2 separate regions of the Homo sapiens genome follow, and region 1 is linked to region 2. Evidence: promoter capture Hi-C in 16 types of primary human blood cells and fetal thymus (Javierre and others, 2016). All regions are on one chromosome and are shown on one strand. Each heading gives the region's core, a stretch centred on a gene start or on the middle of the fragment in contact. The rest is flanking DNA. Distances are from core to core; before and after follow the strand shown. Region 1 overlaps LOC105369313 (a long non-coding RNA gene). Region 2 holds the start of UBE2L6 (ubiquitin conjugating enzyme E2 L6).

Region 1 (5,826 bases), core at 722-3,221, 930 kb before region 2:
ATAAACTTTTCTGTATATGTTACATTTCACACTTCAAATGTTTAGAAACAGACCCAACAGAGCTCCTATATTCAATAAGTTTATTTAAAAAAAACTAAAGGGGAGATAAGACCTATACATAAGTAACTTTAATTCTGTGTAGAAAATAATAAAAACCAACAAGAGATACATATAAAATGCTATAGTAATAGTTGAAGGGTAGATTCTAGGGTGGGGAATTGAGGAAGATAACTTTGCTCTGGACAAGAAAGAGAGATACAGTAAAATAGAAATTATTCAGATATATTTCACAAATAGTGTCTGTTTGGCTGAAGTGTAATATCTGTGGAGAGAAGTAATGGAAAATAAGTTTGGAATGATACACTGGTGCCCAACAGTAGGGATATTATCTTTCAAATTGAGGTTTTCAAATTTAAGCTATAGATTCAAACTTCAATAAAGAAGTTCTGGACATCATGCACATAGACGTCGGAGATAAGGCAGAATCTCAACTGCTGTAGAAGAATATTTAAAACAGCTTTCCTTATGCACCTATGTTAAAGTAAAGCACTTGTTTGCTTCAGAGGAAATTTTCAGCATTTTATGTATGAGCACATATCCACCTAAAACATTATTTGAGCACCTGCTCTAGCAAATATTGGTATTCTGTGTATCCAGAATCCATTTTCCTGCTTAAAATATCGTGACTTTCTTGGAGAATGATCTCTTTCTTGGAGAATAGATTGGTGGGAGAAGAGTGTCTAGTTCCTGTACCCTCTCCACCCACAAGTCTATGGAAGCTGAGGCAAGGATAACCTTTCCTTCCCTGCCCCCTAAGGAAGAGAAATCTATACAGAGAGATTCATGGAGGTATATAGAGAGGCAGGCATGAGTCCTAAGCTCAGCCAACAAAAAGTTCTCACTCCCCTAAATTTGAATCTGCAAGGGATGGAAAGAAGCATCAAGGCTTGGAGCTCATTTGCTATAGCAGGGAAATGTTGGTGGGGCCATTCCAGACATGACATGGTTCTTTGCTTCCGACTTCTGTTCCTTAGCCCTCTGAAGTGCTCCTGGTTCCTGCATTTTGCCCAGTTTCCTTTTGATTCTGCAAACCTCTTGATATCCTTTCAATTACCTCTTTTGTTTCCCTTCAAGTTAGCCTGAACTGGTGTCTATAATGAAACATAACTGATACCTCTAGCTTGTGAGAGATACTCTTCCATGGACAGTAGAGTGAACAAGAGAGAAGTCACTGACCTCACAAAATTATAAATGTTAAAGAGTATGGGGAATAAAGCACCCTCAATAATAAAAGAGAGGTCCACAACATTTCAATAAAAACCAAAAAGTGTTATAAAAAATTATCAGGAAATGAATAATGCAGAGGAAACACTGCCACAAAATTTAACTTAGCAGAAAATGAAGCAACTACCAAGGCATCCATTTTTAATTATTTTTGTTCTTGCTAACAATAGTAATAAACATCTGGAATTATTGGTACATAGGATGAAAGAGATCTTAGGGCTGTTTTTGTTCCCCTGTTGCATGTTACTGACTAGGAAGTTGAGGCCTGGGGAGGAGAAGTGGTCTCTGAATTCTCACATCCAGGAAGTGACAGAGTGAGACTTTGTGCAGTATTCTAACTCTGCATACCACCTCACACACCACAGCTGCTCTGGCTGGCGGCCACAACCCCTTTTGTGTGTATGAGCACACATTTAGTTTGCTTAATGTTTTTGATAGAGTCAGAAACATTTTTCTTACAAACACGTTTGTCCTTATAAACACATTACTGATTTTCTGTTCAGATAATGGTCACTTTTTATCTGAATAATGTATGAGCCTGGCTAAAGCTGGACAACGTTGTGTCCAGGAGCCAGTATGCTGACTTTCAAGTTAATTGCAACAACCACTTCTTTTTAGGTCCCTCGTTGGCTGCTCGTCAGATTTCTCTCTTCAATTCCAAGCGCATCTTATGTAAACAATAGTGTCTATGATAGTGGATGTGATTGTGTGCTACCTGGATCTCCTAGCTGAAATCCTTCGAAGAATTTCCTTCAGTCAATGGGAGCCACCTCCCCTGAGGTTATGGCTCCAGGTGAAGATTAAACAGCTGTAGAAGTGTCATCCAAGATTGGCCAGTGAGTAGTATGAAGGCCTGCCCCTGCTTGTCCTGTTTCCTTGACACAGCTCCCAAGAGCCATCTCAGCTCCCAAGCACCCTAAAGGATTGGCTGAGGCCTTTATTGAGACTGCATTGCAGCACAATTTCTCCCTCTCTCTAATTCTGCTGCCATCTCTCCCTTACAGATGCTGTTCCTGAGAGTCCTTCCTGGAGAGCCATCTGCACACAGATCTCAGTCTCAGAGTCTATTTCCCAATGAATCTAATCTGAGAGATCTCTTCATTTGCTGTTTTTTCCCTGTATGAAATAGTTACTTTGTTTTACTTTATTTTATTAAGTTCAGTGGTACATGTGCAGGTGTGTTATATAGGTAAATTGTGTGTCATGGGGGTTTGGTGTACAAATTATTTCGTCACCCAGGTAATAAGCATAGTACCTGATAAGTAGTTTTTCAGCCCTCTTCCTCCTTCTCACCCTTCACCCTCAAGTAGGCCCTGGTGTCTTTTGTTCCATTCTTTGTGTTCAAATGTTTAGCTCTCACAAGTGAGAACATGTGATATTTGGTTTTCTGTTCCTGTGTTAGTTCACTCAGGATAATGGCCCCCAGCTCCATCCATGTTGCTGCAAAGAACATGATCTTGTTTCTTTTTATGATTGCATATTATCCCATAGGTTATATGTGTCACATTTTCTTTATCCAGTCTACTGTTGATAGGCATTTAGGTTGATTCCATGTCTTTGCTCTTGTGAATAGTGCTGCAATGAACATATGCGTATATGTGTCTTTATGACAGATCTATTTATATTCCTCCTGGCATATCCCCAGTAATAGGATTGCTGGGTCAAATAAGAATTCTGTTTTAAGTTATTTGAGAAATTGCCACACTGTTTTCCACAATTGCTGAACTAATTTATGTTCCCCCCAACAGTGTATAAGCATTCTCTTTTCTCTGCAACCTCACAAGCATCTGTTATTTTTTGACTTTTTAGTAATAGCCATTCTGACTGGTGTGAGATGGTATCTCATTGTGGTTTTGATTTTCATTTCTCTAATGATCAGTGATTTTAAGCATCTTTCATATGCTTGTTCACTGTATGTTTTCTTTTGAAAACTGTTTGTGTCTTTTGCCCACTTTTTAATGGAGGCTGTTTGTTTTTTGCTTGTTAATTTGAGTCCCTTATAGATTCTGGATATTAGACCTTTGTTGGATGCATAGTTTGCAAATATTTTCTCCCATTCTGTAAGTTGCCCTTTTTACTCTATTTGTTTCTTTTGCTGTCCTCATCCACTCTTAATTCTATGATAATTTCTGATGGCCAAATAATGTTTTACCTTCTTTAAGATTGCTATTTGTGTTGCTAAGAACATCAGAGATAAGATCCTAAATCTTTAGACTTGTTTCTTGAAGTAAGCAGAAAACAGTGGCTAGTGTGCACAAAATTCACATTTCCTAGAGATGTAAAGAGCCTTAGAAGCTGTCCCCTCCTCAAATACTTCCTGATGGTTTTGTGTGTGCTGTGAGCTCTGGTGGGCATTTTCACCTTTGTTGTTTCTCATAATTACCCTGTTAACATTTAGGTTATTATCCTAGTTTTATAGTTGATAAAACCAAGGCCCAAATATGTGAAGTGACTTATCAAGGATTAAACAGATGAAGAAGTGTCATCATTTTCTACTAAATGATAACCTGTGATTTATGAATCAGATTTCCCATTTTATAGATGGTAAAACTAAGGCTCAGATACAGATGCTAAGTGATAGAACCAGGATACCGATTCACTCTTTTGCTGGCCTACAAACCCTTTATACTCTATTCTTACCTCCCCATCATGTTCTACCTTTTTTCAGATGAGAAAACTAAGGCAAAAAAAAAAAAAGAAATCTCAAATGTTTTTTCCCATGTCATATAGATAGACTGGTGGTGTTGAGTCTAGGCTCCAGATTTTCTATCTCCCACTCCACACCACCACCTAGCTGTCCTGCTCAGCATGCTCAGAATCTGTAGGACTCCAGCTGCCTTTTCCAAACCTGGTCGGTGCAATGGCATTCTCACTTTGACTGCAAAACTCCTCACCAAATATAAAACTGAAAATGTAGGCCACCTGTCCATGTGATTGTATTTCATAACTTAGAGCTAAAAATAGCTCTCAGCTTGCTTGGCCTGTATATAACATATTAAAAGCTCAAATTCAAATTCACTCGCATCTTGGATTAATGTTAAGATTATGGCTTTCCAGACTTCTTTCTCTCACATTCTATCTCACCCAGCAGGGAATGGATTGTGCTTGTCCACATTATTTTCTATGTGAATTACTGAGCTCTTATTTTCAAAGATGAATTTCGTGACCTTATGCTCTTTGCTGTACCTGCAGAATTCATTTTGGAGGGCACAGACTCTAGAACCAGACAGCAGGGTAAGGCTGGGTATCTGTGGCCAAGGCATGAAAATTTTGCCTTGATTTCTTCATCTGTGAAATGGAGACGAAATCATACATATTTCCTGAGGCTGTTTTGAGAAGTAAACACACTAATTCATGGCTAGTGTTTAGCTAAAATCTGGACACACACACAGAGTGGACAAATATGATAATTAAAAGCAAAAATCAACAAAATAAAAAATCACCACCGCATAGCATGACCAATTTGTCCTAGTTTGCCTGGAACAATCTGTTTTCTCACTGAAAGCCCCAAATCTCAGAAAATTTCTTAATTCTGGGCAAATTGGAACGGTTGTTTACTCTATTCACCACCAATGAAACAAACAAAAGGTTCTGAGTAATTCATTTATTCAAGAAGTGTTTATTTATAACTAATAAATTCTAGACAGTGTGATGGTATTTTAAAGGTAAACATGACAAAAATGTATCCTCATGGAACACTCAAGCTAATGAGAGAGAATTATGAAAATGGGAAAATTGTATATGTGCTGTCCTGAAAACTGGCATGAAATGGACAAAGAGTGTAATTCTGAGATGCATTGTATTCAGTGGGACACAATCCAGGAATTTCATGGATTACACACTTCTGTCTAATGCTACTTTTTTTTTTCCCCAAGCAAAATGCTATGGGGAGTTAACAGGGTTACATATGAAAAAGCTTTCCATAAGCAGGTAAGTTAAACAGCTTGCTGTTACATTACTACAGTACTTCTCAGCATCTTTAATAGCCTACTGAACACTTAAATCTCAGATGGGGATGTTTTAAGTATTATTTCTGAACTTTTAGACTTTTCAACAACATAGAATTTTTTTAAAACTCATGTGATGGTACCAATATTCCGTAGGGCTTTGACAGAAGGAAAATCTAAGTGGTATTAGGCATTGAACACAGAAAGCTCAAAGTAGGAAGAAAAGTGCCAAACCCCAACTCCTCATAAATAGAGACAGAAGTCATGCTTCAGTCATCAGAGCCAGAGCTGTGGTTCTTAACCGTTTTTCTTTTGGTTCATGAGCCTTGTTTCAGAATTTAATGAGCACATGGATGCATAGAGGATAAGAAGCTTCAATCAAGAGCCTTGAAATTCACAGAGCATGCTGAAGAGATGCTAAGTCTTCTTAGGAATTGAAAAATCTTCTCTAAGTGAATTTTGATCCTTCCTATCAGCAGAGATGGAAAGAACCTGCAGACTGAAATAAATACTAACACAAGAAAGAAATTCCACGTGTGGACTAGCATGGGATAATAGTGTAGAATGCATAGAAGCAGGACTTAGATGAAATATA
Region 2 (5,057 bases), core at 1,402-3,901:
GGCTGGTCTCGAACTCCTGACCTCAGGTAATCCGCCTGCCTTGGCCTCCCAGAGTGCTGGGATTATAGGCATGAGCCACCATGCCAGGCCTCGGACTTAGAATTTTCTTTTCTTTTTTTCTTTGAGCGGAGTCTTGCTCTGTCCCCCAGGCTGGAGTGCAATGGCGTGATCTTGGCTCACTGCAACCTCTGCCTCCTGGGTTCAAGCGATTCTCCTGCCTCAGCCTCCTGACTAGCTGAGATTACAGGCACCCACCACCATGCCCGGCTAATTTTTGTATTTTTAGTAGAGACGAGGTTTCACCATATTGGTCAGGCTGGTCTCGAACTCCTGATCTCAGGTGATCCGCCTGCCTCGGCCTCCCAAAGTGCTGGGATTACACGCGTGAGCCACTGCGCCCGGCGACTTACAATATTCTAAGTTCCTCCACTTCCCTCAGCTTAGCCTCACAATGGTCCTGGCAAGCAGATAGGAGTTTCCGCCGACCACCCAAGGCCATAACTGCACATGGGGGCAGATGTGGAACTAGAACCCAGGTCTCCCTGGGGCTTGTTCTGACACACAAAGGTCTGCATTGTGAAAGGACATGAAAGGCACACCAGTGGGCTGCCCCACTGTGTGGGGACTTAGGACCCAGCTATATCCATGACTGTTAATTCACCTCGGGATGCAGCGTTCCTGTAAGAAAAGAAAAGGAGAGCTACGATACGTGGACAGAGGCTTTTGCTCCAGTTTCCATAGACACTGCCCCGTTTGCTCATGCTGTTCCCTCTTGTTAGAACATCTTCATCCCACGCTCTTACTTCTCGCTGACTCATCATGTTTCACAATACACTTGGATTTTTCTCTCTTCCGGGAAACCTCTGCCCCTCCCTGAAGAGGGATAAAGTGACCCTCCTCATACTCCCAGAGTACCAGGTGATTCTCTATAGCATTATCATTAAAAATCAGGGGCTGCATTCTCTCCCTCTGTCCCAGTAGTCTGGGAACTAACTCCTCAGGAGCAGGGACTCCCCTTTCTCATCCTGGTGTTTCCTATTGGCAATGCCTGCCACTCAGTAGTAGGCGCTTGTTGACTGAGACTATTGATCACAGGCAGGTTCGAATGTCTTTGTTCCCTCATCTCTACCCCTGTTAAGGGATTACGGAGTGTCCTATTCATTTCGGGCATATAGAAAATGCTGTTAAAGTTCATTGAATTGAATGAAACAATTAATCGTTCTGCAAAATCTGAGCAGAGAAGTCATTTGGTTTCAAAATACTTGGATAAAAACATTACGGTGGCTCACGCCTGTAATTCCAACACTTTGGGAGGCCGAGGCGGGTGGATTACTTGAAACCAGGAGCTCGAGACCCTGACTCTACTAAAAATACAAAAATGAGCCGGTCGTGGTGGCGCGCGCCTGTAAATCTCAGCTACTCAGGAGGCTGAGGCACGAGAACAGCTTGAACCGGGAGGCGGAGGTTGCAGTGAGCCGATATCGCCACTGAACTCCAGTCAGGGCGACAGTGAAACTCTGTCAGAAAAACAAGAAACAAAAAAACTGTGAGGTACTGAGATCACAAACTGGTGCTCAAAATATACTGATTTCCTTTCTCGTCTGGACTAAACGGGGGTAGGGAAGGGTGAGAAGGAGGGGATCGGCCCTCCCAACAAGTCTCATCTTCCCCAGATGCTGCTTGGTGCTCAGGGGCTGCAAGTACTCTGTCCTTGCACAGAGGGTTGGGGACTCCAGCTGTGCATGGGGGCACACATTAGGCCCACAGCTTGTAATGGACCAGTAGTAAAGTAAGGGAGGGGAAGCAGACTCTCTCTTGGAAAGGAGGCTCCTGAGTCCTTCTTGGGGCTTCCCCCACCAACTGTTTCCCAAACCAGCATACAGTAGGCACTTAGTAAATACTAAACCTAGTAAAGGACTGAATGATGGTAGACCGAACCCCCAAAGCAAAAGAGAAAGGGTCCAACAGCGCCTCCTTGCGGTGCTCTGCCCCAAGCCACGGGGAGAAACGTTGCAGCCCGCGCCGAACGCCGGGCAGCACAAAGGATCCCCGACTGCCGGGGAGCGGTGCTCGGAGGGCACAGGTCTACGCCATCCCCCACGCAGTTTCGGAGATGGAGCGCTGGGCCCATGGAGGGAAGGCGGCAGGCTCGGCGGCTCCGGCAGCTTGCTGGGGCAGGGGCTCAAGGCGGCAGTCCGATAGTGGAGGCCGCTGAGAACTGTCACGGAGCTGCGTCTGTACAGCGAGCATCCCTTATTTATTCAGGGCGAGTGTGTATTTGGGGCGGCGTGCAGGGGGCTGACAAAGACCGGAGAGCTCCCGGTGCGGCCGCCGGCGGAGCGAAGACTGGAACCCGTATGAGCGCCCCCCAGCGCCCCTGAGCGCTCGCCGCCGGTGCACGGCGCACCCCGCGGGAGGCAGGGATCAGCAAAGCCGTGCGCCCCGAGGCCCGCCCCCGTCTCCGCACAAAGACCGTGAGTCCCGGGTCCGAGCCTTCCGCGCGGGGATCGGGCGGTTGTCCGGCGGGTCGTCCTTCGACGGCCTCCTGGCCTCGCCGGAGCGGGTGCGGGGAGGCCCACGCAGCGACGGCTGGAGGAGGGGTGGGCGGGGCTGCCGGGGGTGGGGTCCCCGGGGCGGGGCGGGGCGCGCTGTGTCGCGGGTCGGAGCTCGGTCCTGCTGGAGGCCACGGGTGCCACACACTCGGTCCCGACATGATGGCGAGCATGCGAGTGGTGAAGGTAACCGCGTATAGGATGACCCCTTTCTCTTGGCTCCCCTCGCCTCCCGCATTCCCTCCTCCCTCCATCCCCTCCGCGGCTCTCCGAGCACATTTATTTATTTGTCTGGGCACCAGGGCTGGCTGAATCCCTGTCCTCCCCGCCCTCTACTCAGAGGAGGACTGGCCTGCAAGAGTGGCCAGAGCTGGGGTTTTGGGGGTTTGGAGGCCTCTGCTTGAGCCGTTCGCGTGGTGAAGATGAGCCGGCTCCCCCAAAACTGGTTTCAATTTCGCTTTTCCTGCCTGAAACTTGTGATAACAACTGGGTGCATCTCCAGTGCAGGAAAAGTCCTTGGCATCTTGGTGCCAGGCATTCTGCTACTGCTGGTGGTGGGTTATGAACACAGATGACCAGGATGAAGTCCTTGCCTTGGAATAAGCCCATAGCCCATCCCATAATTTGATGCCTGTATTACTAGAGTCCTGAGAAACACGGAATGCTGATTAGAATTTGGGACAAAGTTCCCTGAGTATTCTCTGGAGGAAAAGATGCGGAGGTGGACCTGGAAGGCCTCCTGGAGTAGGTGGCTTGCGTTCGTGAGTTCTACAAGTGTTGAATGCCTACATGTGCTGGCCCTGTTCTAGGAGGGGGGGGGGGGCGGGCAGAGATGAACACAAATCCGGCCCTTGTTGAATTTTGTTCCTATCAGGGACACAATTTGAAATAAGATCTGGAAGGATGGGGAGGGGGCAGTTTCCTCCAGAAGGTGGGAAAACCCAGGGTGTTTGGAGATGGATTAGGGAGGAAGGTGATCCTGGTGAAGTGAGTCTGGCACCCCAAGTCTTTCAGAAGTGCCCCTTCCAGTCTGCAGGGTGGAGGGGCAGGCTCTAGGAAGAGGGTGCCTGCTACCCTCAGCCTCTGAGAAGAAAATGGCCTCAGACTGGGATGCCCAGAGCAGGCTTGGCCTAGATACTAAATCTGGAGGTTGGCAGCAAAATGAGGCAGAGGGTCTTTCCAGCCAAGTGGAAGAGAGATGGGAGCCAGAATTTATTGCATTGGAACCATTACATGCCAAACGGTTTACATGGTTATTTCATCTAATTCGCACAGCAGTTCTGTGAGATAAGTAATATATACCCGCATTTTACAAATGAGGAAATTGAGGCACAGAGGAAATAACTTGCTTGTCCAGAGTCTTTCAGTAAGGAGCAATGGGACTGGAATATGAAACCAGGTCCACAGGCCTCCAGCCTGCAGGCTCTCTTAATGGCCTTTCTACTTTCATTTTCTGTTCCTCTGAGTCAGGTGATTTCCTAGTAGGCAGTAGGAAAGAACTGTGTGTTTTAGGTTGGGTTTCAACTTCCTCAGGCTTTGGGAAAGTTCTGGCAGAACTCATCCTAAACAGATAAAGTTCAAGTGTCTTTATCTTTCCAAGACCTGGAAAATGTCTATTCCAGATCTTCTCCGGTCAGCCCTGGGCTTTGTTCTTGCCAAAGAGTCACAGATGATAGAGAAACTCTTACAAGTGCAGATGCTTCTAGTTTGGGGTAAAGATAAATGAAGGGCCATTGACCCTGGGTGGAAGGCACCAGAAGCAGCTTATTGGTTGAACAGAAATAGAACATAGGCTGAGGGATAGGAGGGGGGCATGGGATGTGTTTATATTATATGTTGGGGGTGGGGGTAAGGCAGAGAAAGTTCAAATGGTCCACAGTGTTAAAGGACCCCTCCCCACTTGTGGACTGGGTTTGGAGAGCTTCAGTTTCTCAACCTCATCACTACTGACATTTTGGGTCACATAACTGTTATGTATCCATTGTATGTTTTTAGATTTGAGGTTACTACAAGGTTTGTAAATAATATCTTATAACCTGTTATTTTAAACTGATGACAAGTTAACACTGATTACATAAACAAACAAGCAAAATGAAAACTAATGAAGGCCAGGCGTGGTGTCCCACTCCTGTAATATCAGCACTTTGGGAGGCTGAGGTTCGCGGACTGCTTGAGCCTAGGAGTTCGAGACCAGCCTGGGTAACACAGCCAAACCCCATCTCTACAAAAAGTACCAAAATTAGCCGGGCATGGTAGCACACTGCTGTAGTCCTAGCTACTTGGGAGGCTGAGGTAGCAAGATCACCTGAGCCCAGGAGGTTGAGGCTGCAGTGAGCTGTGATTGTGCCACTGGACTCCAATCTGGGTGACAGAGTGAGACATTGTCTCAAAAAAAAAAAAAAAAAAAAAAAAAACAACTAATACAAACTGTATACTTTAACTTCGTCTTTCCGCTTACTAACTTTTTGTTGTTTCTATTTCTTTCCTTCTTTCTTTCTCTCTCCC

The links. Contacts are between HindIII fragments. The CHiCAGO score rates a contact against its expected background, and 5 or more counts as called.
Region 1: a fragment that was not itself captured here is called in contact with the fragment with the promoter of UBE2L6 in region 2 in 1 of 17 cell types (naive CD8 T cells); the score reaches 6.5 in naive CD8 T cells.

The regions. Positions count from the first base shown.
Region 1 is chr11:58,494,467-58,500,292 of GRCh38, reverse strand. It overlaps LOC105369313 (a long non-coding RNA gene), which reads left to right. Exons shown (of 5, transcript XR_007062673.1): 4 at 1,903-2,120; 5 at 2,289-5,826. Among named protein-coding and RNA genes, the nearest start is that of OR5B21, 11 kb to the left of the region's middle. The HindIII fragment of the contact is 6,463 bases long and covers 1-5,202 here.
Region 2 is chr11:57,565,266-57,570,322 of GRCh38, reverse strand. UBE2L6 (ubiquitin conjugating enzyme E2 L6) reads left to right here and starts at 2,651. Exons shown (of 4, transcript NM_004223.5): 1 at 2,651-2,738. The coding sequence starts at 2,712. RefSeq lists a silencer at 2,288-2,647 and an enhancer at 3,901-4,250. The HindIII fragment of the contact is 19,025 bases long and covers 1-5,057 here.